Regions from separate parts of the Homo sapiens genome. Here region 2 is linked to region 1. Evidence: promoter capture Hi-C in human tissues and cell types (Jung and others, 2019). All regions are on one chromosome and are shown on one strand. Each heading gives the region's core, a stretch centred on a gene start or on the middle of the fragment in contact. The rest is flanking DNA. Distances are from core to core; before and after follow the strand shown. Region 1 holds the start of MUC4 (mucin 4, cell surface associated). Region 2 overlaps LOC124906253 (keratinocyte proline-rich protein-like).

Region 1 (4,098 bases), core at 520-3,019:
AAAAAAAATTAGCCGGGCGTGGTGGCAGGTGCCTGTAGTCCCAGCTACTAGGGAGGCTGAGGCAGGGGAATGGCGTGAACCCGGGAGGCGGAGCTTGCAGTGAGCTGAGATGGTGCCACTGCACTCCAGCCTGGGCGACAGAGCAAGACTCCATCTCAAAAAAAAAAAAAAGTGCAAAATGATCACGAAGGCCAAGCTGGGCCTTGGTGTCTGCGAATTCCCTGCAGTAGGTCCCTCCTGCTGCCCCGTCCAGGCGCCCACAGGATGCTCCACATGACTCTTTACCTTTATGATTTTCTTACCTCCAGGAAAGAACAGGGTCAGCTCGTCCACCCAGAGCTGGAGGGACTGTTGGGGGACCACGCCACTTCCCCACGGTATCCGCATTATTATGGCGTGGCCCAGGCTTTGGCCTGGGGCCATGAACAGACTTTCAGCTTCTAGAAGCAAGTGGTCACAGGGCCTCCGTGACCCTCGGAGACAGCGCCACAGCGTCGGTTGCCTACTCCTTGCTGGACAAGGCTGGCTCTGCTTGGGAATGCAGAAACCCTGAGTCCTTGTCCTGGGCCCCACAGTGTCTGAGCATCGAAGGTCCCTGCTCTGGGACGAGTCACCCCACAGACACCCCACATTCGGGAATCAAGTCTTGAGGAATCAGAAGCAGAGATTCACACTGTGGCAAAGAGGGGAGCGGAGGTATCCCCGTTTTCCTTTGCAGAGAGCTACACCAACTGCCCTCTTCGTCTTTACAACCCTACTTGGGGTCCCTTTCCCTCCTCGCTTGTGCCTGTGAGTTCCAAGAGGTGGAACTGGGGTGAGCAGAGCCCCCAGGTCTCCAGGAGCAGCTCCACCTCCTCACAGGTTACAGTCGCTTCCTCCTACCGAGGTTCTGCCTTCAACCCACTGCCCATGCCAGCTCCCTCAGGCCAGTCTCCCAGACTGTCCCTGGCTCCCTGCACCCTGGCTCCAGCTCCCTGCCCTGGAAAGAAGAAGTCCACCATCTGGTGAGGGTCTGCCACGCATCTGGGGTCTGCCATGCGTCTGCACTGAGGTTCTGCCACGAGTCTGCACTGAGGTTCTGCCATGCGTCTGGAGTCTGCCACGCGTCTGGGGTCTGCCACGCGTCTGGAGTCTGCCATGGGTCTGGGGTCTGCCATGTGTCTGGGATCTGCCGTGCGTCTGGGGTCTGCCACGCATCTGCACTGAGGTTCTGCCACGCGTCTGGGGTCTGCCACGCGTCTGGGGTCTGCCACGCGTCTGGGGTCTGCCACGCGCCTGCACTGAGCAGATATTCCAAGCACACCACCCCTTTCCAAAAGACGGCATACAGTGCATTTCTGTTCCTGCCCCTCACCCACATGGTTCCCCGCTTCCCAATTCCTTGGGGTCTGCTTAAGTCTCACTCTCTTTCCCCCATTCATACAGCCCCAAGGTCGCTCCCTCTGGGGCCCTTTCTTCCCCATTCTTCCCAGCAGCCCAAAGCTCTGGTGGGACAGGGGCAGCCCCTGGGGAGGGAGGAGAGGACCCAGGAACCCGGCTAGGAGGGTGGCCCACCCATTTCCAGTGTGACCTGTTCCCATTCCCCCATGTCTCCTCCCATCCCTCCCGCCACTCAGCTCAGGCTGATGAGAAGCAGAGCAACGGGTGTATCGGTGTTTTCTTTCCTGGTGGGGTAGTGGGGTGGGGCTGAGGAGAGAAAAGGGTGATTAGCGTGGGGCCCCGCCCTCTTTTGTCCTCTTCCCAGGTTCCCTGGCCCCTTCGGAGAAACGCACTTGGTTCGGGCCAGCCGCCTGAGGGGACGGGCTCACGTCTGCTCCTCACACTGCAGCTGCTGGGCCGTGGAGCTTCCCCAGGGAGCCAGGGGGACTTTTGCCGCAGCCATGAAGGGGGCACGCTGGAGGAGGGTCCCCTGGGTGTCCCTGAGCTGCCTGTGTCTCTGCCTCCTTCCGCATGTGGTCCCAGGTAAGTGATGGAGACAGCAGATGAGGCTGGCTGCGGGGAGCACTTGGGGGAGGTGGGAGCTGTCAGAGAAAGAGGTCCGGGGAGACAGAGAGAGAGAGAGAGAGAATAGGGGAAAGGGAGACAGCGAAGAGGAAGAGAAGGGAGAGAAAAAGAGGGAGAGGGAAAGGAGAAAGAGATGAATGGGACAACATGGGGGGAAGGTGGAGAGAGACCCAGAGAGGGAAAGAAGAGGAAGAGAAGAGGGAGAGAGAAAGAAGAGTGGAGGCCGTGCGCGGTGGCTCATGCCTGTAATCCCAGCACTTTCGGAGGCCAAGGCAGGAGATCACCTGAGGTCAGGAGTTCGAGACCAGCCTGGCCGACATGGTGAAACCCCGTCTCTACTAAATATACAAAAATTAGCCGGTCGTGGTGGGCCCCACCTGTAATTCCAGCTACTCAGGAGTCTGAGGCAGGAGAATCACTTGAACCTGGGAGGTGGAGGTTGCAGTGAGCCAAGATCGCGCCACTGCACTCCAGCCTGGGAGAGAGAGCGAGACTCTGTCTCAAAATAAATAAATAAATAAATAAATAAATAAATAAATAAATAAATATAAAATAAAATAAAAAATAAGAAGAGGAGAAAAGTGGGGAAGAGGAGGCATGAACTGGCAGATACGGGACAAGATCTGAGGGGAAAGACAGAGGGAGAATGCTCGAAAGAGAGAGAAAAGAGAACAGAGGGCCAGAGAGCAGCCCGGCGATGTCTGGAAGGATCCATGGTGAGAGCCCAGGCTTACTCGCAGAGAGAAAGACAGGCAGAGCCAGAGCAAGAGGAACAGAGTCAAGGAGAAAGATGTACACCCTTGTGTACAGAGCTGGGGGTAGAGGGGATGCCAGGAAAGCTGGGTGATGGAGACGGAAGAAAACTCATGTAAAGCTGCAGGGTGAGAGGACGAGACAGGTGAGACGCAGACAAACTGAGGACCCTGGGAATGGAGAGAGGAGAAGATCGGGAGACAGCAGCAAGCAAGGGAAGCGACAAGGAGGAGAGGGGCAGGCCGGCCGGGAGGGTGGTGCGGAGGAGGCGGCCAGGGCGCAGAGGGCCGGGAGGTGCTGGCCGTGGGCTTCTTACCTCTGAGCTCGGGTTTAAAAGCCTCCATTTGGGTCACGGCCTTGCCTGGGGCTCGTAGCCCCGGCATTGGCCTTGGGCTCCTCCGTGTACAGAGCTGGGAGGGGAGGGATGCCAGGCCTGTGGGAGATGTTCCCTCGGGGGCCCCCGTCCTCTTCCCCACACTTTCCAGGCTGTCCCTCTGGCTTCAGGACCAAGTTTTATTCTGTGTTTCTGGGTGTCTGAGTCTTTGGGGGAGAGTCTGGGGTCCAGAGTTCAAGCTGGGGTTAGAGTCTCAGCTCCTGCCCTGCCTCTCAGCAGGCTAAGAACAGTCGCCGAGGGAAAATATTTCTTGGGCGCATATTTGAGGAGCTTCCTGGGAGTGAGTCAGAAGGCGAGTGCCGTTTAAAGGCTGCAAGAGAAGCCATGCTGGTGAAGCGGACCCTTCCACCTCGGGATGTTTCAGGACTAGGCTGAGGGCAAAGGAAACTGCCACCACCTCCCTACACCTCCCCACCCTCCAGCACCCCCACCCCACCCTGGCCACACAACCCCGCTCCAGTGCTCATCCCACCGTGAGGACGTGGAGGCCGGAAGGAGCCGCCACACGGCCCTGCCCTGCAGATGTGGTTGAAGGAGTCTCCACGGGAATCATGACTCCCAGAGCGAGGCTGGGGCTTGGGGCGCCGGGGAGGCAGCTTGGATTTAGGAGCCCCAGGGCCAAGTCTTTGCCGTGAACTGTTCTGGCCCCTGTGACCAGGCCCTGCCCCGTGTCTCCCCAGGGCCCCGGTCCCCTGTGTAAAAAGCAGTGGTGAACGGTTGGACCTCCTGACGCCCAAGTTCTTGAGTTTCCAAATCTGTGATTTAAAGCTGAGCCCAAATGTGCTGGGTACCAGCTGGACACTCAGCTCCATGTGGAGCCAGGAAGTGGGGTCTGTGGAGAGGAGCGCAGAGGGGCAAGACCTGGGGTGGGCGTGGAAAAGCACGGGGGCGTGACCCGGAGAAGGAGTGAAGGACTGTTGGTGTGCAAGGGCGTCTCCATGACGACC
Region 2 (3,876 bases), core at 703-3,202, 100 kb before region 1:
CCTGGCCAAAGTACTTTTTCATCACCTATAACCAGGCAAATCAAGACAGGGCCATATACAATCCCCATATGTAAATTCCCAAGATTCACTAACATACTTTTCTCGCGTCTGGGTTTGTTGCAGCGCAGCTTCAGCATGGTATTTATGTGTGTATTAGAGGGTTCAGGAGTCGGGTGAGAGAGAGAGTAGAGTAGAGTAGGCGCCCTGGATTTCTATCTTGGTCATGGAGATTCTAATCCAATTGCAGTCACTACCCTTCAATTGCTGCGTGTCCGTGGGTCACCCGCTCTACCCTTCAATTTCTGCGTGTCCGTGGGTCACCCGCTCTACCCTTCAGTTGCTGTGTGTCCGTGGGTCACCCGCTCTACTCTTCAGTTGCTGTGTGTTCGTGGGTCACCCGCTCTACTCTTCAGTTGCTGTGTGTCTGTGGGTCACCTGCTCTATCCTTTAATTGCTGTGAGTCCGTGGGTCACCTGCTCTGTCCTTTAATTGCTGTGAGTCCGTGGGTCACCCGCTCTACCCTTCAATTGCTGTAAGTCCATGGGTCACCTGCTCTATCCTTCAATTGCTGTTTGTGGGTCACTCACTCTACCTCTCAGAGCCTGTGTCCTCACTGCTAAGTGAGTGTTAGACTTGATGTTCTCTAAGGCCTTTTCAGCTGTAACATAAAATCCCTCTCCCATTGAGAATGTACATTCCCTCCTTCAAACTTCACACCCAGATTCAATTCTACCCTTCAAATTTTTATTTATTTATTTATTTAATTATTTATTTTTGAGATGGAGTCTCGCTCTGTTGCCCAGGCTGGAGTGCAATGGCGCAAACTCGGCTCACTGCAACCTCTGCCTCCAGGGTTCAAGTGATTCTCAAGCCTCAGCCTCCTGAGTAGCTGGGACTACAGGCGCCCGCCACCACATCCAGCTGATTTTTGTATTTTTAGTAGAGATGAGGTTTCACCATGTTGGCCAGGTGGGTCTCAAACTCCTGACCTCAGGTGATCTGCCCATCTCAGCCTCCCAAAGTGCTGGGATTACAGGCGTGAGCTACTACACCCGGTCTAAATTTATTCTTTTATAATCGTTTCCTCTGCATCCCAGTAACAAAGAAGTGCTGTTGGTGAGACCGTAGAAGCTGTACTCACCTCGTAGGTGCCCTGCGTTCCCCTGCGAGTGTTCCTCTGGGCCTAACCACCCGGTCACCTTCTTTGGGTCTGCTGATAGTGAGGTGTCTTGGATAACTACAGCAAATGTTCCAGGAACGTCCCTTTTTTCTATGGACAAGCCCGTCTCTGCAGAAGTTACAGATTGGCATCCTTGCTGAGGGTGACTTGTATCTGTGTCTTCACCTGCTTCCCTGATTTCTGACATACTGACTGCCTTGTCTTCTAGGCATGGAATTTCCTTGAGTTTTAACCCACAGACCTATCTTCGCTGTGGCTTTTTGTGTGTTTTGGCTTTTTGGCCCTTCTAGACCCAACTTCCAACTCTGCTACTGTGGTGAATCATCCCCTAAGGGCTGCTGTGATTTGTAGAACACTCACACCTGTGGGGCACTGAGCGATGCTGCGTGGAACCGGGGAGGAATGCTGAGTGGAACCGGGGAGCGATGCTGCGTGGAACTGGGGAGCAATGTGGAGTTCTTGAGTAAGGGAGAGACATGATGAAATCGATGTTTTAGGAAGATTAACAGGGAATTAACCAGGAGGTACAGGGACTGAAGTCGGCAAGGTCATCTACACAATGTTTGCTGTAATCATGCCATTCAAGGGTGTGAATAGCATCGCATTATCTTGTGTAATTCTTACAGTCTCCCGGTGAGGGTTCATGTCTTACGTGCAGAGGCTAATGGAAGGATCTGATCCCACTCACATGGAAGTCACCTCATGGTTAGGGGTCTGGCATCCCAAAGGTACTTGATCACTGTTTGAAAAATGAACGTGGGGAAGCTAGGACTTGGACACAGGTTCTTTCTATGTGGAATAAAGTGGTAGCTGAGAGGAAGTGAGTCGAGAGAGGAGGCAGAAGGGTGGAGCCCTGAGGTATCTGGGGCTGAAGTAGGTGTATTAGGTGCTGAAGGAGGAGATGGGTAAAGGGGGCTGCCAAGAACCTGAATCTGCTTTCTGGACAAATGAGAGAGCCAGGGGAGAAGGGAAGGAGAGCTGGAACTGAGAGTTTGGGTTCTGTTGCTACCTCCTAAGATGGAGCAAGTCTGGGTGTCCACTCAACATCAGTGCGCAGGCAGGCAGCCGCAGATGCAGGGAGCTTGGTACCTGGGGGCCTCGCTGGCTCAGCTGTGGGAGGGGAGTCGGGGAGTGGCAGTGGGTGGAAACGATCTTACCAAGCTGGAGAGGGTAGCCAAGAACGGAGCAGGTATGGGCTTGCCTGGGAGGCTCACTATTTTAGCAGAAGGAGGAAGAACAGTTAGCTAAAGACTGTGCAGTGTCTGCACTGCAAATTGGATTTGAGCAAAGGAGAGAGCAGAAGAAAGGTGCAAGAGTGACACAGTACCTCACCATTTAAAGACAAGCCTTGACTGCAACATTTCCCACACTTAGTATGGTGGGCTCCAGGGGAGGCCAGATTTCAGGGAGTTAAAGGAGTAGGTGAAGAATCAAAGGAGCCCGTCCTTCATATGATTGGTCTTGACTCCTCCACTGGAAGTTTGTTTATTTAATTTATTTATTTCTGAGACAACGCCTCTCTCTGTTGCCCAGGGCTGGAGTGCAGTGGTGTGATGGTACCCCCCACTGCAGCCTCGAACTGCTGGCCTCAAACAATCCTCCCACCTCAGCCTCCTGAGTAGCTGAGATGACAGGTGCACACCACCACGACTGACTAATTTTTAAATTTTTTGTAGGTAGGGAGTCTTGCCATGTTGCCCAAGCTGGTCTCTAGCTCCTGGCCTCAAGCAGCCTCCCACCTGGGCCTCCCAAAATACTGGGATTATAGGTGTAAACCACCATGCCTAGCCTCTTTTTTAAAAATTAATTTCTTTTTGGCCCGGCGCAGTGGCTCACGCCTGTAATCCCAGCACTTTGGGAGGCCGAGGCGGGAGGATCACTTGAGCTTAGGAATTCAAGACCAGCCTGGCCAACATGGTGGAACCCCGTCTCTACTAAAATACAAAAATTAGCCGGGCGTGGTGGCGCATGCCTGTAATCCCAGCTACTGGGGAGGCTGAGGCAGGAGAATCGCTTGAACCCAAGAGTCAGAGGTTGCAGTGAGCCGAGATCATGCCACTGCACTCCAGCGTGGGTGACAGAACGAGACACTGTCTCAAAAAAATTAATTTTTTTAGAGACAGGGTGTCCCTCTGTCACCCAGGCTGGAGTGCAGATCATAGCTCATTGCAGCCTTGAACTCCTACACTCAACTGATCCTGCTGCTTCTGCCTCCCAAGTGCTGGGATTCCAACTGTGAGCCACTGCGCCGCACTAGAAATTCCTTGATTCTGTGTATGGGGCCACATCTGGCATGACTGTGCCCGAACACCAACCAATCAGGAGTAACTGAACTCACTGGTCCATTTGTTGGTTACCAACCACAACTCTAGGTGTCCACCAGGGGGCACCAGAGCGCAGGGCTCCATGAGGCTCTGTTTCAGAAGAGCCCATGATGACCTCAGGGTTTGTCATCTCTCGGCTCATTTGGCTCTTGCTGTGATTGGGCAGAGGGGGCAGGTGTGTGGGAGCAGCTGGCAGTGCCTCCTCCCAACGGCCTAGTAAGGTTTTGAAAACTGAATTGCTCGGGGGCATGTGAGCACAGCCCCCTTGGCAGCTCCAGGGACCTCTGACTTGGGCAATAGGGTGAAGGCACAGTCTGTTCTCGGTCCTGGGAGGATGTGGCCGGGGTTAGCAGATACACACCATGCCTAAGA

The links. Contacts are between HindIII fragments. The study calls those that stand out against the background at their distance.
Region 2: a contact is called between a fragment that was not itself captured here and the fragment with the promoter of MUC4 in region 1, in 2 of the 25 tissues and cell types used here (adrenal gland and psoas muscle).

What each region holds. Positions count from the first base shown.
Region 1 is chr3:195,809,600-195,813,697 of GRCh38, reverse strand. MUC4 (mucin 4, cell surface associated) reads left to right here and starts at 1,769. Exons shown (of 25, transcript NM_018406.7): 1 at 1,769-1,962. The coding sequence starts at 1,881. RefSeq lists enhancers at 3,509-4,072, 4,073-4,098. The HindIII fragment of the contact is 26,053 bases long and covers 1-4,098 here.
Region 2 is chr3:195,914,892-195,918,767 of GRCh38, reverse strand. All of the region lies in intron 3 of LOC124906253 (keratinocyte proline-rich protein-like), which reads left to right. Among named protein-coding and RNA genes, the nearest start is that of TNK2, 8.3 kb to the right of the region's middle. RefSeq lists a silencer at 3,711-3,760 and an enhancer at 3,362-3,876. The HindIII fragment of the contact is 6,786 bases long and covers 1-3,876 here.